3 separate regions of the Homo sapiens genome follow, and all the other regions are linked to region 1. The links are contacts of gene promoters, found by promoter capture Hi-C in human tissues and cell types (Jung and others, 2019). All regions are on one chromosome and are shown on one strand. The core of a region is centred on a gene start or on the middle of the fragment in contact, and the rest is flanking DNA. Distances in the headings are between cores, read along the strand shown.

What was found. The method cuts DNA at HindIII sites, captures the fragments that hold promoters and counts their contacts. A contact is called where the count stands out against the background at its distance.
Region 2: a contact is called between a fragment that was not itself captured here and the fragment with the promoter of CACNA1B in region 1, in 4 of the 25 tissues and cell types used here (H1 embryonic stem cells, IMR-90 fibroblasts, dorsolateral prefrontal cortex and 1 more).
Region 3: a contact is called between a fragment that was not itself captured here and the fragment with the promoter of CACNA1B in region 1, in 2 of the 25 tissues and cell types used here (dorsolateral prefrontal cortex and lymphoblastoid cells).

What each region holds. Positions count from the first base shown.
Region 1 is chr9:137,876,361-137,879,060 of GRCh38, forward strand. It overlaps CACNA1B (calcium voltage-gated channel subunit alpha1 B), which reads left to right and starts at 1,422. Exons shown (of 47, transcript NM_000718.4): 1 at 1,422-1,857; 2 at 2,694-2,700. The coding sequence starts at 1,574. All of the region lies in intron 2 of CACNA1B-AS2 (CACNA1B antisense RNA 2), which reads right to left. RefSeq lists an enhancer at 1,615-2,530. The HindIII fragment of the contact is 23,600 bases long and covers 1-2,700 here.
Region 2 is chr9:137,969,569-137,972,268 of GRCh38, forward strand. CACNA1B (calcium voltage-gated channel subunit alpha1 B) reads left to right here. Exons shown (of 47, transcript NM_000718.4): 11 at 1,815-2,024. Among named protein-coding and RNA genes, the nearest start is that of CACNA1B-AS1, 24 kb to the left of the region's middle. The HindIII fragment of the contact is 7,856 bases long and covers 1-2,700 here.
Region 3 is chr9:137,754,314-137,757,013 of GRCh38, forward strand. All of the region lies in intron 8 of EHMT1 (euchromatic histone lysine methyltransferase 1), which reads left to right. Among named protein-coding and RNA genes, the nearest start is that of MIR602, 83 kb to the right of the region's middle. The HindIII fragment of the contact is 7,617 bases long and covers 1-2,700 here.

The sequences.
Region 1 (2,700 bases), core at 172-2,671:
CCCTGATTTTGTTTGGGGCAACTATGTGCTCGCCTAGTGGGGGCTGGCCATCCTGGTCCACTTTGACACATGTTCACTTTCCCACCCTGTTAAAGTCAGGGCCGGCCACATGGCCCATGGCCTAACGGGGTTAAAGAGACACTTGCAGGGGGAGCCTCTGAGAAGCTTTTCCTTTGTTAGAAAAGAAAATCGTAACCTGATTCACAAAGTGGTCATCCTTTGTACACCTGCCACTTCCTTCCCGTTTGAGATGCTGGTGTAGCGGTGTGATGCCCTGTGCTATGACAGCCACCCTGGGGCATGAGGCAACAGGCAGGAAGGCAGAAAGTGTATGTGGGGATTTTGGAGGGAGGAGAGATGGTGGCTTCGTATTCAGTGAGATCACAATGGCATCGTGCAAGCTGCTGCTAGCTGGGAAGCGGGTTGTTCGCCTCTGAATGCATCCTAAGTGATTCAGCACCCCAGCCTCCTGCAGTCCACACTCCACACGGCAGCCCGAGGGACCCTTCAGAGGCCTACGCGCCTCTGCTCGGAACTGTGCGGACTGCCTCCCTCTCAGAAGGCGCAGCCCGCACCCGGCCTCACTCTGCACTCAGCGCCTTGCGAGCGAGCTTCAGGTCCGAGAGGGTCCCTTGTTCCCGAAGGTCTCCCCGACCCCGGGGCCGCCTTTTTGGAGGTTGTGAGGACCCACGGGCCTGCACGAAGTGAGCGCTGTGTAAATGGTTGCTGTGCTTTGTACAAAACGGTCAGCTCCGTGAGGGCAGAGCTGGGAGCCCAGGACAGGCCCGGCCCGCGGTGGGCGCTCAAGGAGGCCTGGGGAATGGCAGTGACCGTGACAGGTTCCCTAACGGGGCGTGGCCTGCAAGGCGGTCAGAGGCTTCTCTGAGCTGAGATCCCGGAGCCAGCCCCGTGCGTGGAAACAGCAGGTCCCGCACCCGGGCTGGGGGCCCCCGACAGAAGCGTCCGCGTGGCACCAAGGCCGCGAGCCGAGCGCACCCGGAGGGTTGGGAAGGCCGGGGACCCGGCGGGGACGGGGCGGGCCGGCCCAGGCCTGGCGCCCAGCTCTGGGCTGCAGCCCCAGGGCTGGTGGCGCCTCCGGGCGGAGCGAGGGGTCCGTCTGGGCCGAGTTTGAGGAGCCGAGGGCACCCAGGGGCGGTGCGGCCGGCAGAGTGGGCTCCGGGGACGGCCCGGGCTGGCGCTGAGCGGCCGTCGAGGACCCACAGGCTCGTCCGCTCCTGGGCCCGGCCCAGCCCCGGGGTGGGAGGCGCGGGGCGAGGGAGGCGCAGCCGGAGGGGCCGGGGCGGGGCGGGGGCGGCCGCGGGGCGGGGCCGGCGCGGCAGGGTGGGCGGGGCCGGCGCGGATTGGCCGGGCCCCGCCACGTGACCGGCCCCTTATAGGGCGTGGCGCGGGGCCGCGGAGTCGGGTGAGGCGGCGGCGGCTGCGGCGGTGGGGCCGGGCGAGGTCCGCTGCGGTCCCGGCGGCTCCGTGGCTGCTCCGCTCTGAGCGCCTGGCGCGCCCCGCGCCCTCCCTGCCGGGGCCGCTGGGCCGGGGATGCACGCGGGGCCCGGGAGCCATGGTCCGCTTCGGGGACGAGCTGGGCGGCCGCTATGGGGGCCCCGGCGGCGGAGAGCGGGCCCGGGGCGGCGGGGCCGGCGGGGCGGGGGGCCCGGGTCCCGGGGGGCTGCAGCCCGGCCAGCGGGTCCTCTACAAGCAATCGATCGCGCAGCGCGCGCGGACCATGGCGCTGTACAACCCCATCCCGGTCAAGCAGAACTGCTTCACCGTCAACCGCTCGCTCTTCGTCTTCAGCGAGGACAACGTCGTCCGCAAATACGCGAAGCGCATCACCGAGTGGCCATATCCTGCCGGGCGGGGCCGGGCGGGGCCGGGCGGGGACCGGGGTGGGGGCCGGGGCCGGGGCCATCTTCCCGGTGGCCGGGAGGGCGCGACCTGGGGAGGCGTCGGGAGACGGGCGAGGGGGGTACGGAGCGCCCCAGGGCCCCTCGGAGCGGCGGGTGCGGGAGCATTTCCGTGAGTGCGGCGGGCGCGGGGCGGAGCCCCTCTGCTCCGGACTCGTCCCTCCGCACGCCGGGTCCTGGGGATCCTGGTCGGTGCACAGTGCGCGGCTAGCCTGGAGGGCACCGAGGGCGAAGCCGCGTCCGTGCAGGTGCGAGCGCTGTGGGGACGCGGCCGTGCGCGCGCCTGGCTGCAGGTGCCTGCGTGTGCGGGCTGAGCTGGAGCCTGGCGCTGCGCGTGCGTGCGCTCGCGATGCGGGCTACATGCATGTTCACGTGCCTGTGTAGGTACATGTGGCTGCGTGTCTGGAGGGAGCAGCGTGCGCCTGCGCGGGGTCTCCCTCCAGCCTCGCCTGGGGGCGCTCGGCCCCCTCCCCTCGGGGCCCTGGAGTCGGGCGGAGCCGGGCCGGAGGCGCTGTCCGCGGTGCTGACGGCCGCCCGGGTGTGCCGAGGGGCTGGCGGCCCAGACTGCGGAGGCCCCGCCTCGCGGCCGCCCCTAGGGATGGGGGCAGGGAGTGAGGGAGACCAGGCCGCTTCCGCCAGGAGAGGGGCTCCGGACCCAGTTGTCTCAGCCCCTCCGGAGACGGCCTAGCGGTGGCTGCTGCACTGGGCTCTGCTGGCGTCGGCCTCGTGTTTCCCTCCGTGCGGCGTCTGCCGGCCAGTCCTTAACTCACGCACTCCATTC
Region 2 (2,700 bases), core at 99-2,598, 93 kb after region 1:
GACACAGTGGGTTTACATGAGTCACGTGTTCTCTTTCCCTCCTTCCCAGAGTGGCCCTGTTTGTGTCCACAGGTGTGTGCCTCATGTGCACTGAGGAGTGTGTCTGTGTGAGCATCTCATTGGATCTTCAAAAGTGAGCGTGGTCAGGCTGGATGTGTGCTGTGAAGCATGTGCGTGTGTGACTCCTGTGTTCCTGCACAACTGTGTGTGGGTGCATGGGGGGTTCAGAGTGTGTGGGCTTGTTCTGTGCACAGCTCTGCCTGTGTGTGTGCCCCTCCTTATCTGCATTGCACACCTGCCTCCCTCCTGCCCTACTGCTGCCTCTGTGGGGAGTGGTCATCCCTGGCCTTCAGCAGGGCTGGCCACATGCCACTGAGAGCCTGGGTGTGCACATGTACACACATGTGTACAAACACACAGAAAATGCACATAGCACACGAGCTATGAGAGCCACTGAGAGCCTGGGTGTGCACACATATGCATGTGTGTACAAACAGAAAATATGCATAGCACACATGCCCACACTGCCCCTGCTCTTTTGTGCCACTGAGAACCTGGGTGTGCACACATATGCATGTGTGTACAAACACACAGAAAGTACATGTAGCATACACTGCTCCCCACATCCTCACACAGGGACCCCATGCTCAAGCCCAGGTATTCAAAGCCCACTGAGAGACCCATGGCTGGGGCACAGCTGTCTGCTCTCTGAGAACACTGAGAGGCACCCACATGGCCAGGCTTAGTGCACAAACTAAGAAACCCTTACACAGGCAGATGTGCTCTCCTGCAGAGACACAGCCAGCTCCTGTACAGACACACCTGAATCCTCATAGAGACCCTTCCCTCAGTTGTTAAGCATTGATCAAGCCCCTCTCAGTGTGAGGGGCTCAGTGGTGAAGAAGACAATGTGGCCCTGTCCTCATGGAGCCTACAGTCTTGTCTGGGAGTTGGGCATGGAACAGGTCAACAATAAAACACAGTGACAGGTGGTGATGTGGTCAGGGCCACTGTCGGAGGTGAGCCGAGGGCCCTGTTCTAAATGGTGTGCCCAGAGCAGGTGCTCTGTGCAGGTGACGTTAATGCTGAGACTTGAAAGTGTGTGGGAAGGAGTCCAGTGAGGGACGCATTTCACACTTGGGATATTGTGTGAAGGGCCAGGGCACAGCAGGACTGGTGTGCGTGGACATGGGAAAAGGCTGCTGGGTTGGGTGGTGAGCAGGGTAGAGAAGCAGTCAGGCTGGAGCAGGTAGACAAAGTTTCCAACAGTAAGTATTGTGGACATTGAACAGCCATGGACCATGCGTAAACCGATGAGCTTGGCTGTGTTCCAGGAAAACTGCTTAGAAAACAGGCAGCCCATGCGTGCTGACCCCTGAGTCCGGAGGGCGAGAGAGGGAGGGCCAGATGCTGCAGGGCTCTGTGGGCTATGCTGAAGAGATGGGATCTGGGGAGGGACTAACTCAGATTTATGTCTTCAGGGGAAAAAGCTTGGGGTGCTCATGGAGAGTGGCCTGGGGGCATCAGGGCTGTGCTCCTAGAAGGTGGCTGGGGATGCTGGGGACCAGAGAAGTGAGTACAGATCATCCACTTCAATCTGGCTCTCACATCTGGCACCCAGTAACCATGGAGATCATCAGGGCCTTGGTTCCCTCAGCTGTGAAGTGGAGGTCACAGGGGTCACTGGCACAATTGTCTGTGACCGGCTGGGGCTGGGGGCAGGTGTCCTCCAGAGTGCGTCTGTGGGGGTCCACAGGTGGGGTAGGCGGGTGCCCATTGGTCCCCACATCCTCAGTAACTCCCCATCCCCTCAGGATCCCCCTTCGCCCGCGCCAGCCTCAAGAGCGGGAAGACAGAGAGCTCGTCATACTTCCGGAGGAAGGAGAAGATGTTCCGGTTTTTTATCCGGCGCATGGTGAAGGCTCAGAGCTTCTACTGGGTGGTGCTGTGCGTGGTGGCCCTGAACACACTGTGTGTGGCCATGGTGCATTACAACCAGCCGCGGCGGCTTACCACGACCCTGTGTACGTATCCCCGTCCCTCCCTCAGGTGCTTCCTGAGCATCTCTGCTCTCAGTCTGGAAACCCTGGTCCATGCCCTGGGGCTACCCCAGGTGGGACGGGACCCACCCCCATGTTGCTCAAAGTATCCCACAGCCCTAGTCAGCCTCCAGGAGCCTCTGTGGGGGCCTGGGGTGTGTCCAGAGCTGGAGGGTGGCCTCTCCAGCCCCTGGGTTCCAGAAAGCACAGCTGGATCTGCTAGACCCCTGTCCCTCAGCATAGTGTGAGACTGGTTGAGGGGTCCGAGGCACCCAGGGCAGGATATATGTGGGACGACCAGGGGCGAGTCAGGCCAGGCAGATGGGTGTCCTCCCCTGAGAGGGCTTCAGACCCACAGACAGGGGACTTAGCCCCACGCTCCTTTCCACCACGTGGCTGCTGATTCTGCCCCGGGTTCCTGAGGGGGGAGTCCTGGCTTCTTACCCTCCCCAGGTTCCCCTGGTTACCTTCATTTTTCTTTACAATTGGCTAAATCTGGATGCATTCATGCCCTTCCGTGGAGTGAGCTGTTTGCAGTTCTGTTCCACAAGCCTCAGCACAGGGGCCAGGATGGGCCCCTCCAGGCCTGGTCTGTCACAGCCTCGGACTCTCTGTCCCATGTGGAATACAGCATTGCTCTGTGGTCTTACTTCACAAACAG
Region 3 (2,700 bases), core at 92-2,591, 120 kb before region 1:
CCATCACGGGGACTGCCTGGGAGGGGATGGTGCCAGGAGGCCCACCTGGGGTTGGGGTGCGTAGGATTTCATTAGAAAAGAGGGCATCACTGTTTAAAAAAAATGTTTGAAATGACTTTGTTAGAGAAACTCAAGTGATTCTAAAGTAGTTTCCTTCTGGCCAATGTAGTGGACGTTGACTTCACTGTTGTTGTTTTTAATTTAATTTTTTTTTTTTGAGACAGGATCTGGTTCTGTTACCCAGGCTGGAGCGCAGTGGCACGATCTCAGCTCACTGCAGCTTCCACCTTCTGGGCTCAGGCGATCATCCTACCTCATCTCCCCAAGAAGCTGGGACTATAGGCGTGTGCCATCATGCCCAGCTTATTTTTTTGTGTTTTTTTGGTAGAGATGGGGTTTTGCTATGTTGGCCAGGCTGGTCTCGAACTCCTGAGCTCAAGCGATCTGCCCGTTTTGGCCTCCCAAAGTGCTGGGATTACAGGTGTGAGCCACTGCGCCCGGCCCCAACTTCATTGTTGAATGTTGAACCGAGGTGAATCATTTGCTGCCCGCATGGGTGACTGGAACCTGTGGCCTGCATGGGCAGCTCCCACGTTGTGTGCAGGAAGCGGCCCCTCAGTGAGGCACCTGTGCCTCGGTCAGAGTCCCCTGTTCCAGAGGAACTTTGTGAATCACAACGTGAATGTAGGAAGGAAATCTCCTCAAACCCAGAAGGGATGCAGCAGGTTTAGGGTGCCAAGGGCCGTTTTTGTTTCCAGCTTAACCGAGGTGCACCTGGCATCCAATAAAATGCACAGAAATAAATTACACAATTTGACAAGTTTTAACATGCTTATGACCTTGAATCCATCACCACAGTCAGATGATCAGTGCCATGAGCTCCTCTGTCACCCCGGGTCCCTCCTGCCCTTTGATAACCTGGCCCCTTCCCTGCCTCCCTTCCCTGCTCCCAGGCAGCCCCTGGTCTGCTCTGTTTCCATGTATTGGTTAGTGTTCTGTAGAATTTTATATAGATGGAACTGTGTGGTTGTTTTTCATCTGGCTTCTCTGAGTATAATTGTTTTGAGTTGCCAGGCTGTCGAATGGCCAGGAGTTTGTTTCTGTCCATTGCTGAGAAGTGTCCCATTGTGTGGCTGCCCCACAGTCTTATCTGTCCATTCATCCGTCCATGGGCTTTGGGCTCTTTCCAGCCTTGGCTGCTAGAAATTAAGTGGCCGTGAACATTTGTGTGCAAATCTTTTTTGAACAGGTGCTTCCCTAGATCTTGGTTAGGTATCTGGGAGTGGAATGGCTGAGTAGAGTGGCGTGTGTTCAGCTCTTCAGGAAGCTGCCAAGCTGTTTTCCAAGCACTCGTCCTGTTTTAGGTCCAGACAACACACAAGCATTCCAGTTCCCCTCTGTCCACGCCAGCACTTGTTAGGGTTAGTCTTTTTAATTCCAGTGGATCTGTGGGTGTGCAGTGGTGTTTTACTGTAGTTTCAATGCTGTTACCTAATGAGTAATGAGATTGTACATTTTAGCCTTCATTTAGTTTTTTTGAAACGTGTCTGTTCACATCTTTTGCTCACTTTTAAAATCTGGTTGTTTTTCTTCTCATTGGGTTAAAAGAGTTTTTAACATATTCTGGAGACAAGTCTTTTATCAGGTGGATGTTTTGCATGTATTTGTACCTAGTCTCTGACCTGCCTTTTCATTTTCCTAATGCTGTATTTAGAAGAGCAAACGTTTTTAAGGTTTTCTTGAAGTCCAAGTTACGAGTTATTTTACTTGGGGGGTTCATGCTTTTGTGCTCTAAGAAATCTTTGACAGACCCAGGTCACAGAGGTTTTGTCCCTTGTTTTCTTCTTGGCATCTGCAGGCTCCGCGCTTGCCTGTCGGTTCATTTTGCACTGATGTTTGAGTGAGCTGTGGCGCAGGCCCCTTCTTGGCAGTGGGTGTGCAGCTGCCATAGGCACTGCTGCTTGAGTTGATTTTTCTCCACCTGTTGACATTCAGTGTGTGGGCTGTTCCTGGACATTCTGGTCTGTTTCATTTATTTATTTGTTTATCCTTATACCAGTGTCACCGAGTGGCAGCACTTTGTTCTTATTCACAGTGATTTTGGCTAATCTAGATTCCCCAATGTAGAGTACCTCTGTTAACTGGATGTTGGGGAGGCGTCATCCCCTGAAAAGAGAGGGTTGCGGGAGACCTGGGGCGTGAGGCAGTCACCATGGAGGCTCCTGGCGTTTGAGGGTGGAGGACGTGTGAGCCCCCCGGGAGCTGCATGTGGTGCTTCAGTTACGTTTCTCTTCACCTCAGTTTATTGATTCAGATCATAACACCAGATGTGGCTTTTACTGTTGGCCAACAAAAGCATTTTAGAGCCAAGACTAAAAGTTGTTTTTGGGGTAGAGATTTCATCTTTGTCATCTTGGCTGTAATGTGCAAAATGTGTGCTTTTAAATATTCACAGAGGAGTTTGAATTTTATTTCTTTATGAATTTTTTATTTAAATCTTCTTTTCGTTTAAAACTATACAAAGTGTACTCCTGTTCTTCAAGTTGATGATGGTGATTTCTCAAAGGTGGTTGACTTTTCCTGTCTGTCTAAGATCTAGGTGGAGCATGTGGCTTGAATGAAAAGACTGGTTACCATACCTCTCTGTGCTAGTGTTCATTTATTTCCAGTCATTGAAATAAGATTGGTGACTAGTCCCTA